Regions from separate parts of the Homo sapiens genome. Here region 1 is linked to region 2. Evidence: promoter capture Hi-C in human tissues and cell types (Jung and others, 2019). All regions are on one chromosome and are shown on one strand. Each heading gives the region's core, a stretch centred on a gene start or on the middle of the fragment in contact. The rest is flanking DNA. Distances are from core to core; before and after follow the strand shown. Region 1 overlaps TIALD (transcript inducer of AURKA lysosomal degradation). Region 2 holds the start of BCL7A (BAF chromatin remodeling complex subunit BCL7A).

The links. The method cuts DNA at HindIII sites, captures the fragments that hold promoters and counts their contacts. A contact is called where the count stands out against the background at its distance.
Region 1: a fragment that was not itself captured here is called in contact with the fragment with the promoter of BCL7A in region 2 in 1 of the 25 tissues and cell types used here (pancreas).

Annotation. Positions count from the first base shown.
Region 1 is chr12:121,869,070-121,874,658 of GRCh38, forward strand. TIALD (transcript inducer of AURKA lysosomal degradation) reads left to right here. Exons shown (of 3, transcript XR_002957437.2): 3 at 5,126-5,268. It also overlaps a transcript of HPD not described here. Among named protein-coding and RNA genes, the nearest start is that of HPD, 13 kb to the left of the region's middle. The HindIII fragment of the contact is 7,965 bases long and covers 1-5,589 here.
Region 2 is chr12:122,019,386-122,024,853 of GRCh38, forward strand. It overlaps BCL7A (BAF chromatin remodeling complex subunit BCL7A), which reads left to right and starts at 2,499. Exons shown (of 6, transcript NM_001024808.3): 1 at 2,499-2,798. The coding sequence starts at 2,707. RefSeq lists silencers at 2,378-2,457, 2,588-2,907, 3,058-3,217, 4,698-4,787 and an enhancer at 3,052-3,867. The HindIII fragment of the contact is 14,578 bases long and covers 1-5,468 here.

The sequences.
Region 1 (5,589 bases), core at 2,434-4,933, 150 kb before region 2:
TTGGCTGGGTGTGGTGGCTCATGCCTGTAATCCTAGCACTTTGGGAGGCCGAGGCGGATCACTTGAGGTCAGGAGTTCGAGACCAGCCTGGCCAACATGGTGAAACCCTGTCTGTACTAAAAATACAAAAATTAACCGGACATGGTGGCAGACGCCTATAATCCCAGCTGCTCAGGAGACTGAGGCAGGAGAATCGCTTGAACCTGGGAGACGGAGGTTGCAGTGAGCCAGGATCGCGCCATTGCCCTCCAGCCTGGGTGACAAGAGTGAAACTTCGTCTCAAAAAAAAAAAAAAAAAAAAAAAATTGGTGGATATGGGGTCTCACTATGTTGCCCAGGCTTGTCTTGAACTCCTGGGCTCAGGGGGTCCTCCCGCCAAAGTACTGGGATTATAGTCATGAGCCACTGGTGTGGAAAGAGTTCTTAATATATTCTAGATATAAATCCCTTATCGAATATATTTGGAAGTATTTTTTCCCCATTTTGTAGGTTTTCACTTTTTTTTTTTTAGTGCAGTGGCTCTCGGCCCACTGCAACCTCTGCCTCCTGGGTTCAAGAGATTCTCTTGCCTCAGCCTCCTGAGTAGCTAGGATTAAAGGCGCCCACCACCAGGCCCAACTAATTTTTGTGTTTTTAGTAGAGACAGGGTTTCACCATGTTGCCCAGGCTGGTCTCAAACTCCTGACCTCAAGTGATCCACCCACCTTGGCCTCCCAAAGTGCTGGAATTACTGGCGTGAGCCACCATGCCTGGCCTTCACTTTCTTAATTGTATTATTTTTAGTGCAACAGCTTTTAATTTTGATGAAGTCCAGCGTATCTACCTGTTCTTCAGTCACTTGTGCTTTAGTGTCCTAAGAAGTGGGCTGATTATTATTATTATTATTATTTTAGAGATGGGGTCTTCCTGTGTTGCCTAGGCTAACCTTGAACTCCTGGGCTCAAGCAGTCCTTCTGCCTCGGCCTTCCACAATGCTGGGATTACAGGCATGAACCACCACACCCAGCGTAAGCTGATTTTTTTTTTTTTTTTAGCTTAAAAGGAAAAAATCTTCTGCAGAAGGAACATGATTCACCAGATGGTTACCTCTGGAGGCAGCACACTTTTTCAAAATAATTAAAATAATGTTAACACAAACTAAATTCCCATTTTCTGGTCACTTTGTTTTATGTGCCAGGCACTGTACTAAGCACATTCCATGCTCTGCTCTTTACTCATTAAATCCACAACAACCCTGTTAAGTAGGTGCTCTCATATCCCCATTTCACAGATTAGAAGATGGAGGCTTACTAGCTAGGTGTGGTGGCGCATGCCTGTAATCCCAGCTACTAGGGAGGCTGAGGCGGGAGAACCACTTGAACCAGGAGGCGGAGGTTGCAGTGAGTGGAGATCGTGCCACTGCACTCCAGCCTGAGTGACACAGTAAGACTCTGTCTCAAAAAAAAAAAAAAAGAAGGCAAGGATGGGTGATCTCATTGTCAGGGGGTTTAGATTTTATCTTTGAGACAATAGGGAGCTATTGAAGGTTTTTTTTTTTTTTTTTTGAGACAGAGTTTCACTCTTGTTACTTAGGTTGGAGTGCAATGGCGGGATCTCAGCTCACCACAACCTCTGCCTCCTGGGTTCAAGCGATTCTCCTGCCTCAGCCTCCTGAGTAGCTGGGATTATAGGCATGTGCCACCACACCTGGCTAATTTTGTATTTTTAGTAGAGATGGGGTTTCTCCATGTTGGTCAGGCTGGTCGTGAACTCCCGACCTCAGTTGATCCGCCCGCCTCGGTCTCCCAAAGTGCTGGGATTACAGTCATGAGCCACCGCACCCGGCCTATTGAAGGTTTTATAGTAGAGATGCAACGTGATCAGAACATTAAAGCTTGCTCTGCTCTAGGTGAGCACAGGGAAGAGAGCTGGGCTGGAAACCCAGCTGCCCAGAGCTGCTGTGCCATTGCCCAGTGGCCTATTTGTGATTCTCCATTAGGTTTGGGGAAGATAAGTAAACCAAGAAGCTTTACATTTAAAAATTGGATCTAGGCTGTAATCCCCTCACTTTGGGAGGCCGAGGCAGACAGATCGCTTGAGCCTAGGAATTCAACATGACCCTGGGTAACATGGCAAAACCCCATTTCTACAAAAAAAAACCCCAAAATCAGCCAGGTGTGGTGGGGCACACCTGTAGTCCTAGCTGCTCAGGAGGCTGAGACGGGTGAATCGATTGAGCCCAGGAGGTTGAGGCTACAGTGAGCTGTGATTATGCCACTGCACTCCAGCCTGGGTGACAGAGTGAGACCCTGTCTCAATTAAAAAAAAAAAATGCATCTAAAAGCAGTCAAATAGCCCTGTGCTCTGCTTCCTGCAATCTACAACTGGAGACTCCCAAACAGGCAGAACTAGTGAGGATTCAGAGGCAGAAGTCCATGGACAGAACCTCACCCCTCCCCTGCCAGGCCCCACAGCTCTCCCAAGCAAGGGCAGCTGGGACCAGAGCAGGTGAAGGCTGGCCCGGGTGCCCAGCTAGTCTTGTTATCAGGGCTGGTGATCCTGGGCAGGGCCACTTAGGTGGGGCTGGTCTTTATCTCTTGAGGTACAGAGCCCATGTGTCTGAGCTTTGTGGTGACAGGAAGCTGTATCACCAGGCACCAGTGATGGCTGGGAGGGACCAGAGAGTTGGTGGCACGGGACATAGGACCCCTGGGCTCTGAAGACTGTGTAATCTTGGGCCACTCCTGGCATCCTCTGAGTCTTAGTGTCCTAACTGTGCAAGCCAGGGAGCACTGGAGCTGGTGTGGACCGTAGGATGTCCTCTGTTCCTGGCACCGGGGCATTGAGGAGTGTCCTGGAGATTTCTTTTCTCTCTTTTTTTTCTTTTTGAGATGGAGTCTCGGGCTGGGCGCGGTGGCTCACGACTGTAATCCCAGCACTTTGGGAGGCCGAGGCGGGTGGATCACAAGGTCAGGAGTTCAAGACCAGCCTGGCCAAGATGGTGAAACCCCGTCTCTACTAAAAATACAAAAAAAAAAAAAATTAGCTGGGCGTGGTGGTGGGCACCTGTAATCCCAGCCACTCAGGAGGCTGAGGCAGAGAATTGCTTGAACCTGGGAGGCGGAGGTTGCAGTGAGCCAAGATCACGCCACTACACTCCAGCCTGGGCGACAGAGCGAGACTCCTCTCAAAAAAAAAAAAGAGATGGAGTCTTGCTCTGTCGCCCAGGCTGGAGTGCAATGGTGCACTCCCACTGCAACCTCCGCCTCCCAGCTTCAAGTGATTCTCCTGCCTCAGCCTCCTGAGTAGCTGGGACTAACAGGAGCCCGCCACCAGGACCAGTTAGTTTCTTTTGTATTTTTAGTAGAGACGGGGTTTCACCATGTTGGCCAGTCTAGTCTTGAACTACTGACCTCAAGTGATCCACCTGCCTCAGCCTCCCAAAGCATTGGGATTGCAGGCATGAGCCACCGTGCCTGGCCTAAAATTTCTTGTCTCTCCAGCATCCACTCCTGTTCTCATAACAGCGTCTCCCTTCTCCATCCTTTCCCTGCTCCGTTCATGTCGTTTGGGTGGGGCATGTGAGCCAGGACTGGGCAGTGAGAATCCCTGTGATTGGTTCAGGGCTGGGCACCTGGCCAGAACTGGCCATATGGATTTGCTCTGGATCTTCTGCTTGAGAAAAGAGGCTCACTCTGAGCTCTGAGTATGCTGCACTGATCCAGTGGTGCTGCGGGGGCCAACCCTGAGTCAGCTGAAGGAAAACATGCTTGTATATAAAGCCAGAACAGAGAAACCAGAGCTGAGAGAAGATAGGCTGATTCCTGATGTCTGAGCAACTTGTTCCAGGCAGAAACAAGCTCCTGGATGAGTCAAACCTTTTTCCCTTTTGCTTAAGCTAGTTTGAGTTGGGTTTCTGGCATTTACAACCACTGGTGCTGACAAACACAAAGAAAGAAACAATAACACCACCACCATCTGTGAGCATGTATTCACTGTCAAGCACCGAGGTAGGGATCATGGGGATTGTCTGTTCCACAGGGAGGTAGTACTTGATCATTTTGTTTGCATTTGCTGGCACACATAAAATAAAGTTGACTGATTTTAGCAGTTTTTATTATTATTTTAAAACTCTCTGCAGACATTGCATCCCTGTGGTAGATTCTACTGTCCATAACCCTTCAAGGAAGGCCTCAATGCCCAGCTGTAGGGAGACTGGTTGGCTGTCACCTCCTATCGGATCTGCCTCAGCTGTAGAGACTTGGCCACAGCTTTCCCAGAGCAGCCCACTTTTTGTGATTGAGCAAGGGAGTAGAGAGGCTGGTCCCTTTCAGCCCAATGGGGGTGACTCTGACCAGTGAGTCTGTCTCCAGGGCCCCGGTAGGGCTGGCCAAGGCCTTGTGGAGTCTCCACCACTGAGTTCTCCTTCTCCCCAGTCCAGCCTCCTCTGCTTCCTTTCACTGATGTGGATCCTTAAAATCATTTTATGGCCGGGCGCGGTGGCTCACGCCTGTAATCCCAGCACTTTGGGAAGCTGAGGCGGGCGGATCACAAGGTCAGGAGATCGAGACCATCCTGGATAACACCATGAAACCCCATCTCTACTAAAAAAATACAAAAAATTAGCTGGGCGTGCTGGCGGGCGCCTGTGGTCCCAGCTACGCGGGAGGCTGAGGCAGGAGAATGGCGTGAACCCGGGAGGTGGAGCTTGCAGTGAGCCGAGATCGCGCCACTGCACTCCAGCCTGGGAGACAGAGACTCCGTCTCAAAAAAAAAAAATCATTTTATGGCCAGGCATGGCGGTTCACGCCTGTAATCCCAGCGCTTTGGGAGGCAGAGGCAGAGGATCGCTTCTGTCCAGGAGTTCAAGGCTGCAGTGGGCTATGATTTTGCCACTGCACTCCAGCCTGGGTGACAGAGCAAGACCCTGTCTCAAACAAAACAACAGCAAGAAAAAAATCTTGCACCCTAAGCTCTGTCTCATCCTCTGCTCCTAGACAACCCAACGCATGACAGCTCCCTTATGACTTGTACCTGATGGGGTGGGAAAGAGGTGATGGAGGCAGCACCCCCCGGTATATGCCACGGCTAAGCACTGTGCCCATTTTATCTCTCAGCTTTCTATTTTTCTCCTCTCATTTTGCAGATGAGGAACTTGAGATTCAAGAAGAGGAAGAATTGCCCAAATAACTTGTTCTTTGTGGCTAGAAAATGCTTACATGGAACTCACCAGGCCACATTCATATTACTATGTTTGTGATCATCCAAACATAAAACCAGTTCCTAGGCCGTGTGCGGTGGCTCACATCTGTAATCCTAGAATTTTGGGAGGCCGAGGTGGGTGGATCACCTGAGGTCAGGAGTTCGAGGCCAGCCTGGCCAACATGGTGAAACCCCCATCTCTGCTAAAAATACAAAAATTAGCTGGGCGTGGTGGCGGGCGCCTGTAATCCCAGCTACTTGGGAGGCTGAGGCAGGAGAATCGCTTGAACCTGGGAGGCAGAGGTTGCAGTGAGCCGAGATCACGCCATTGCACTCCAGCCTGGGCAACAAGAGCAAAACTCCATCTCAAAACAAACAAACAAGCAAACAAACAAAACCAAAAACAGT
Region 2 (5,468 bases), core at 1,249-3,748:
CCCAAAGTGCTGGAATCACAGATGTGAGCCACCGCGCCCAGCCTAGATTTCTTTTTATTATGATCAAATACACATAAAATTGACCATTGTAACCATTTAAAAGTGTACAATTCAGCGTCATTAAGTACATTCACATTGTTCTGCAACCATCACCACTATCTCATTCCAGAACTTTCCTATCACTCCGAAAGGAAACCCCACATCCGTTAGCAGTCACTCCTGCTCTCCCTCCCCCTTGCCTCTGGCAACCACCAATCTGATATCTGTCTTTATGGATTCGCCTAGTTGTAGATATCTCCCGCAAATGGACTTACGCATATTTATCCTTTTGTGACTGGCTTCTTTCACTTAGCGTGTTTCAAGGTTCACCCATGTTGTAGCATGTATTCATTCCCTTTTATGGCTGAATAATATTCCATTGTGTGGATAGACACATTTATCTGTTCCTCAGTCACTATTTGAATTCTGACATAATATTTTCCTATTTTAAATTTTAAGATACATTTTTTTAAAGTTTCATGTGGCCCAAAGCACATACCTATTGATCTCACATATCTCTGTGAGATCTGTTTTATGACCTGCTGTTGCATATTTTCCCAGAAAATTCTCGGAACGATTCTCTGAAGTCCTTCTTTCTCTTTCTCTTTTTTTTCTTTTTCTTTCTCTCTTTCTTTTTTTGTTTTGTTTTGTTTTATTTTGTTTTGTTTTGTTTTTTTGAGATTCAGTTTTGCTCTGTTGCCCAGGCTGGAGTGCAATGGCATGATCATTGCACCTCTGCCTCCCAGGTTCAAGCATTTTCCTGCCTCAGCCTCCCGCGTAGCTCAGATTACAGGCCTGCACCACCACGCCCAGCTAATTTTTGTATTTTTAGTAGAGACAGGGTTTCTCCATGTTGGCCAGGCTGGTCTCGAACTCCTGACCTCGTGATCTGCCCACTTCGGCCTCCAAAGTGCTGGGATTACAGGCATGAACCACCGCGCCCGGCCTTTTTTTTTTTTCTGAGACAGGGTCTCACTCTGTCTCCCAGGCTGGAGTGCAGTGGCTGGATCTCTGCTCACTGCAACCTCCGTCTCCCAGGTTCAAGCGAGTCTCCTGCCTCAGACTCCCGAGTAGCTGCGATTACAGGAGCCCACCACCGCGCCCGGCTAATTTTTGTATTTTTAGTAGAGACGGGGTTTCACCCACCATGTTGGCCAGGCTGGTATCGAACTCTTAACCTCAAGTGATCCACCCGCCTCGGCCTCCCAAAGTGCTGGTATTACAGGCATGAGCCACCGCGCCCGGCCAGTATTTGTTCTTTTCTTCATTTTTCACGTCAGGAGACTGCGTTTCAGAATAGTAAAAACAAATGCCTAGGAAAAGGCCTGCGGTCTCTCCATTTCCACAGTAGCGTGTTCCCCAAAGACCAAACCCTCAGGGGAAACGTCTAGAATGAGTAACAACTTAAGGCTGCAACCTTAAACTTTCCCAGGACTCAGTTTCCCCAGCTGTGAAATGGCTGCTGTCGGGCTGTCATCTCCAGGCCCGGGGCGCTGACATTTGGGCCACTCTCGGTCTCCCTCTTCATTCTGGGCGCGCATTAGCTCTGGTCCGGCCGGTTCCGCTGCAGCTGAACAGCAAGATGCGGCACCCAGGTTACCCTGATCATCGCAGATTTCTCCCCGGGGCTCTGTTCTGAGGCCTCAAAAGTGCTCCTTGTAGATGGGACCAGGGGTCATTTGGGCAGTAGCAGCGCCTGGTCTCAGTCTGGTACTGAAGTCAGGAATGGCTTAAGGTGAAATCGTGGTCCTCTGGTGAAGCTCAGCGAAGACCCCCTCGCCTTGTTTATGACAAGAGAACTTCTGGGGGCGGGAGGAAGAGTCCCTGTTACGATGCTGATCATCATTGAGCTTTTGCTGAGCAGAAAACTCTTTAGTACTCAAGGTCGAGAGTCTCTGGTGGTCTGCCTGGCACCAGGCACCTTCCTACAACCCTAGTTTTCCAAAAGGACAAAGCCTGGGGCAGGCGACGTCCTAGCTCGCATTTGAACAGGGCCGCGGGCCAGCAGAGATGCGCGATGCCCAACTCTTTCCAAGAGCACCTCGCGTCCCGAACCGGTGCCTTCAACTCGGAGAAGTCAAGAGACCCGCAAGAAACTTGCACGACTGCACCCGCCGCCGCGCTCTGGGGGCTGGGCAGGGGCAGCTGGGCTGGCTCCCGGGGAACGCGACCCCCCCGCGCCCCGCAGACCGGCTGTCTCCCATGGACCCCTCGGCACCTGCAGCCTCCGAGGAAGGGTCAGCGCGCGTGTCCGCACGCCCGCCCCCACCGCGCGCCCAGAGCCGGGGGTCGCCGTGCGCCCTTCGCCACCTCCCCAGGAGGGCGTCCGGGGCGTCCCCTCTGGGGGCGCAGGAGGCCCGGGGGCGCTGCCCGGTGGCCGCGGCGCCCGGAGGCCGCACTGCCGGCGGCGGCGGCGGCGCGGCTCCCCCTGCTCTGTGCAGCTGCCGCCCGGCGCTTGCGCACTGGGCCAGGCGCGCGGCGGCCCCGGGCTTTGTGTGTGTGTGTATGTGTGTGTGTGTGTGTGTGTGTGTGTGAGTGTGTGCGTGTGAGAGTGCGAGTGTCTGTGCGCGAGTGAGTGAGCGGCGGGCGGGCGCGAGTGTGGCCGCCGCGGAGCGCGAGCAGGACCCGGCGGGCGCGCTCCCCAGCCTCCGTCTCCCCGCCGGAACCATGTCGGGCAGGTCGGTTCGAGCCGAGACGAGGAGCCGGGCCAAAGATGATATCAAGAGGGTCATGGCGGCGATCGAGAAAGTGCGCAAATGGTAAGCGGAGGCGCCCGCCGCCAGCCGCCTCCCCGGCCGCCCCGAGCCCGAGCGCGGCTCCAGAGAGCCGCGGGGCGCAGCGCCCCGGCCGCCTGCCCCGGCCCAGCCCCGCCGCGGGCCCCGGGACTTGGCGAGGGCGGGCGGACGGGCGGGCGGCGCGCGAGCCGGGTCACCTGCGCCAGGCTGGGGCCGCGGCCGCTGCCCAGGTGCGCTCGCGCCTGTAGCCCACCTGGCGCGGCGGCCCGGAGGCGGCGGGCGCCGGGGCCAGGCGGTTGGAGCGGCGGGGCGGCCCCCGCCGCGGCGCTCGGCTCCCGGGAGGGGGGCTCGGGGCCGGCCCCAGAAGCCATTTCGTTTTGTGCAAGTCACATGAAAGCGGCTTCCCGCGCGCCGGGGCCGCGATGCCGGCGGCGGCGGGGAGAGCGCGAGCTCCATTGTGCAGGCTCCGAGCGGGCCGCCGCCGCCGTCTCCTCCCCGCGCACCCCGGCCCGCGCCCCGCCGCCCTCCGCCAGCCCCGGCCCGCCCGGCCGCCCGCTCCCGCCTCCCGGGCCCGGCGCCCTCGAGTCTGCGGAGTTTGCAGAGCGCGAGCCGTTTAAATTTAGCGCTTTGGGCTGCCTGGAGCGAGGGCTCTCGGCGACCAGGAAAGATGGGGGCGAGCGCTGGGAGCCAGCGGCCAGGGGCGCGGGGCGCCCACGTCCCACCCCGCTCTGCGCGGCGCCCCGGGCGGGGGGCTCGGGCCAGCCGATGTTTTTGGCCAGAAGCCGTTCGTCCTGGGCCGCGGCTGCCTCTCCACACCGGGAGCTCGTGTTTGTTTTGCGGAGGGAGCTGTTGTTTTTGTTCTCTGCACCGGGGAGAGGGGGACTTGGTGGCGGCCGCGCGTGGTTTTCGGGATCACATTAGCGTCCGCCCGGCGTGGCCCGGTCGACATTAAGGGGATCGAACCTTTCCGCGGCCTCGTCGGGGTCTGCTCGGAATCGGCCCCTGGGCCAGGCCCGAGGCGCAAGCAGATCGCCAGGTTGGGTCAGAGTTGTTGAAAACTCCCCGCTGCCTGATTTCAACTTTATTATTTTTTTCCCACGCCTTCACTGGGGTCCCGGAGGGAGAGGAGCCGCCGCAACGCTGGCTCTGAGTGTCAGCGCCCGCGGGCTCGTCTCGACCCTTTATTTCGAGCCTGGAAGCTGGGCAGGCCCTGTGGCAGGGGATGTTTACGTTTGGGGGTGTCGTTTCTCGAGTAGCGCCTCGGTCTCTAAAAGCCACTGGGGGCGAGCCTCCGGTGTGGCGGTGTCACAAGTTAGCTGTCCTTTCTGAGTCAAACCCAACAAAAAAGGCAAGAGGAAAATCAATAAAGTCCACGTGCTCCCCGGCCTCCTATGGAAAGGGCTGGCTGCGATGGCCGGATGCCCGGCCGTGGGCTGGGTTTGGCTCCAGTGGGACAAAGAATTTTCAGAACCGTGAGAAGGGGAGGCTTTCCAAAGTTGAGATCCAAGTCGTCGGTGTCTCGGGAGCTCCCCTGGTACACAGGGTGCCCGGTGCCCGACTGGAGCCATTTAAAAATGGCAGAAACAGCTGCAGGCCAACACACACACGCTGGAAAACAACCCGCAGCCCCCTCTACTGTGGGATTCCCCGCGGGAAGCCCGGAGTTGCTCCCCTCCTTGCCTCAGCCCCTGTGCAAAGAAAGAACTGGTGTCTGTGCCTGGGTCCCTTCTGTCGCCGGCCTGGAGGTTGGGAAACAGCCGGCAAGCCGCCTTTCTCTGCTCGAGGAGGCGTGGTGGGGCCTCCTACTCCAGGTTCCCGGCTGGACAGAGGCTCCTGCACCCTGACAGCTGCTCCCGCAGAGCGGCCAGCTGCTCTGCAGGGAGGGCAGATGGAGAGATGGGGCTTCCCACCCCGCGGGCCCCGGGGCGGCCGGCCTGGAGGCCTTCCAGCCCGCTGACCCCGCGGGGACCAGGCCTGTAGTTGGAGCTTGAGGGGCTGTACCTCTGCGCCTCCCTGGGTTTGGGGAAACAACACATCGTGTCCTCTGAAGACCTCAGGCTTTGGGATCTCATGGTCCAGCTTCCAGTTCACTTCGTTGCCGCGACCTTGGGCATATCATTGTCACTTCTCTAACCATGGTGACCCGGGGTTTTGTGCTTGGCTTCCAGGTCCCCTCGGGTTATTGAGGACGATTGAGGTCATGCCTCCGAGAGCACCGCGCCCTGGGCGCAGGAGGAGCTGTTGCTCAGTGTTGTCTGTGTTGTAAGGTGGACTTTGTAGAAACTTGGCTTTGAGGTTTTTTGTTTTTTTTTTTTTTTGGCCCCTTCTAAGCGAAAGCCTTGGACTTATTGCCCAGGTTTCTCTGGCCCCTGAGAAGCCATATCTCACCTTCCCCGCGCCTTCGGATTGGGTCTTAGACTCAGCCCATGAGACTGTGGGTTGTTTATTAATTGTGTGGTCACCAACCATGCATTTCACCACTGGTGGGGGGGTGGGGTTGCCAGGTTTAACCAGATAAAAATACAGCACACCCAGTTAAATTTGAATTTCAGATAAACAATGAAAGATTTTTTTAAAAATAAATGTTTTTGAGTATGTCTCATGCAATATTTGGGACACACTTATACTAAAACATTATCTAATTTATCTGAAATGCAAATTTAACAGGGCACCCTGTATTTTACCCAGAGGGAA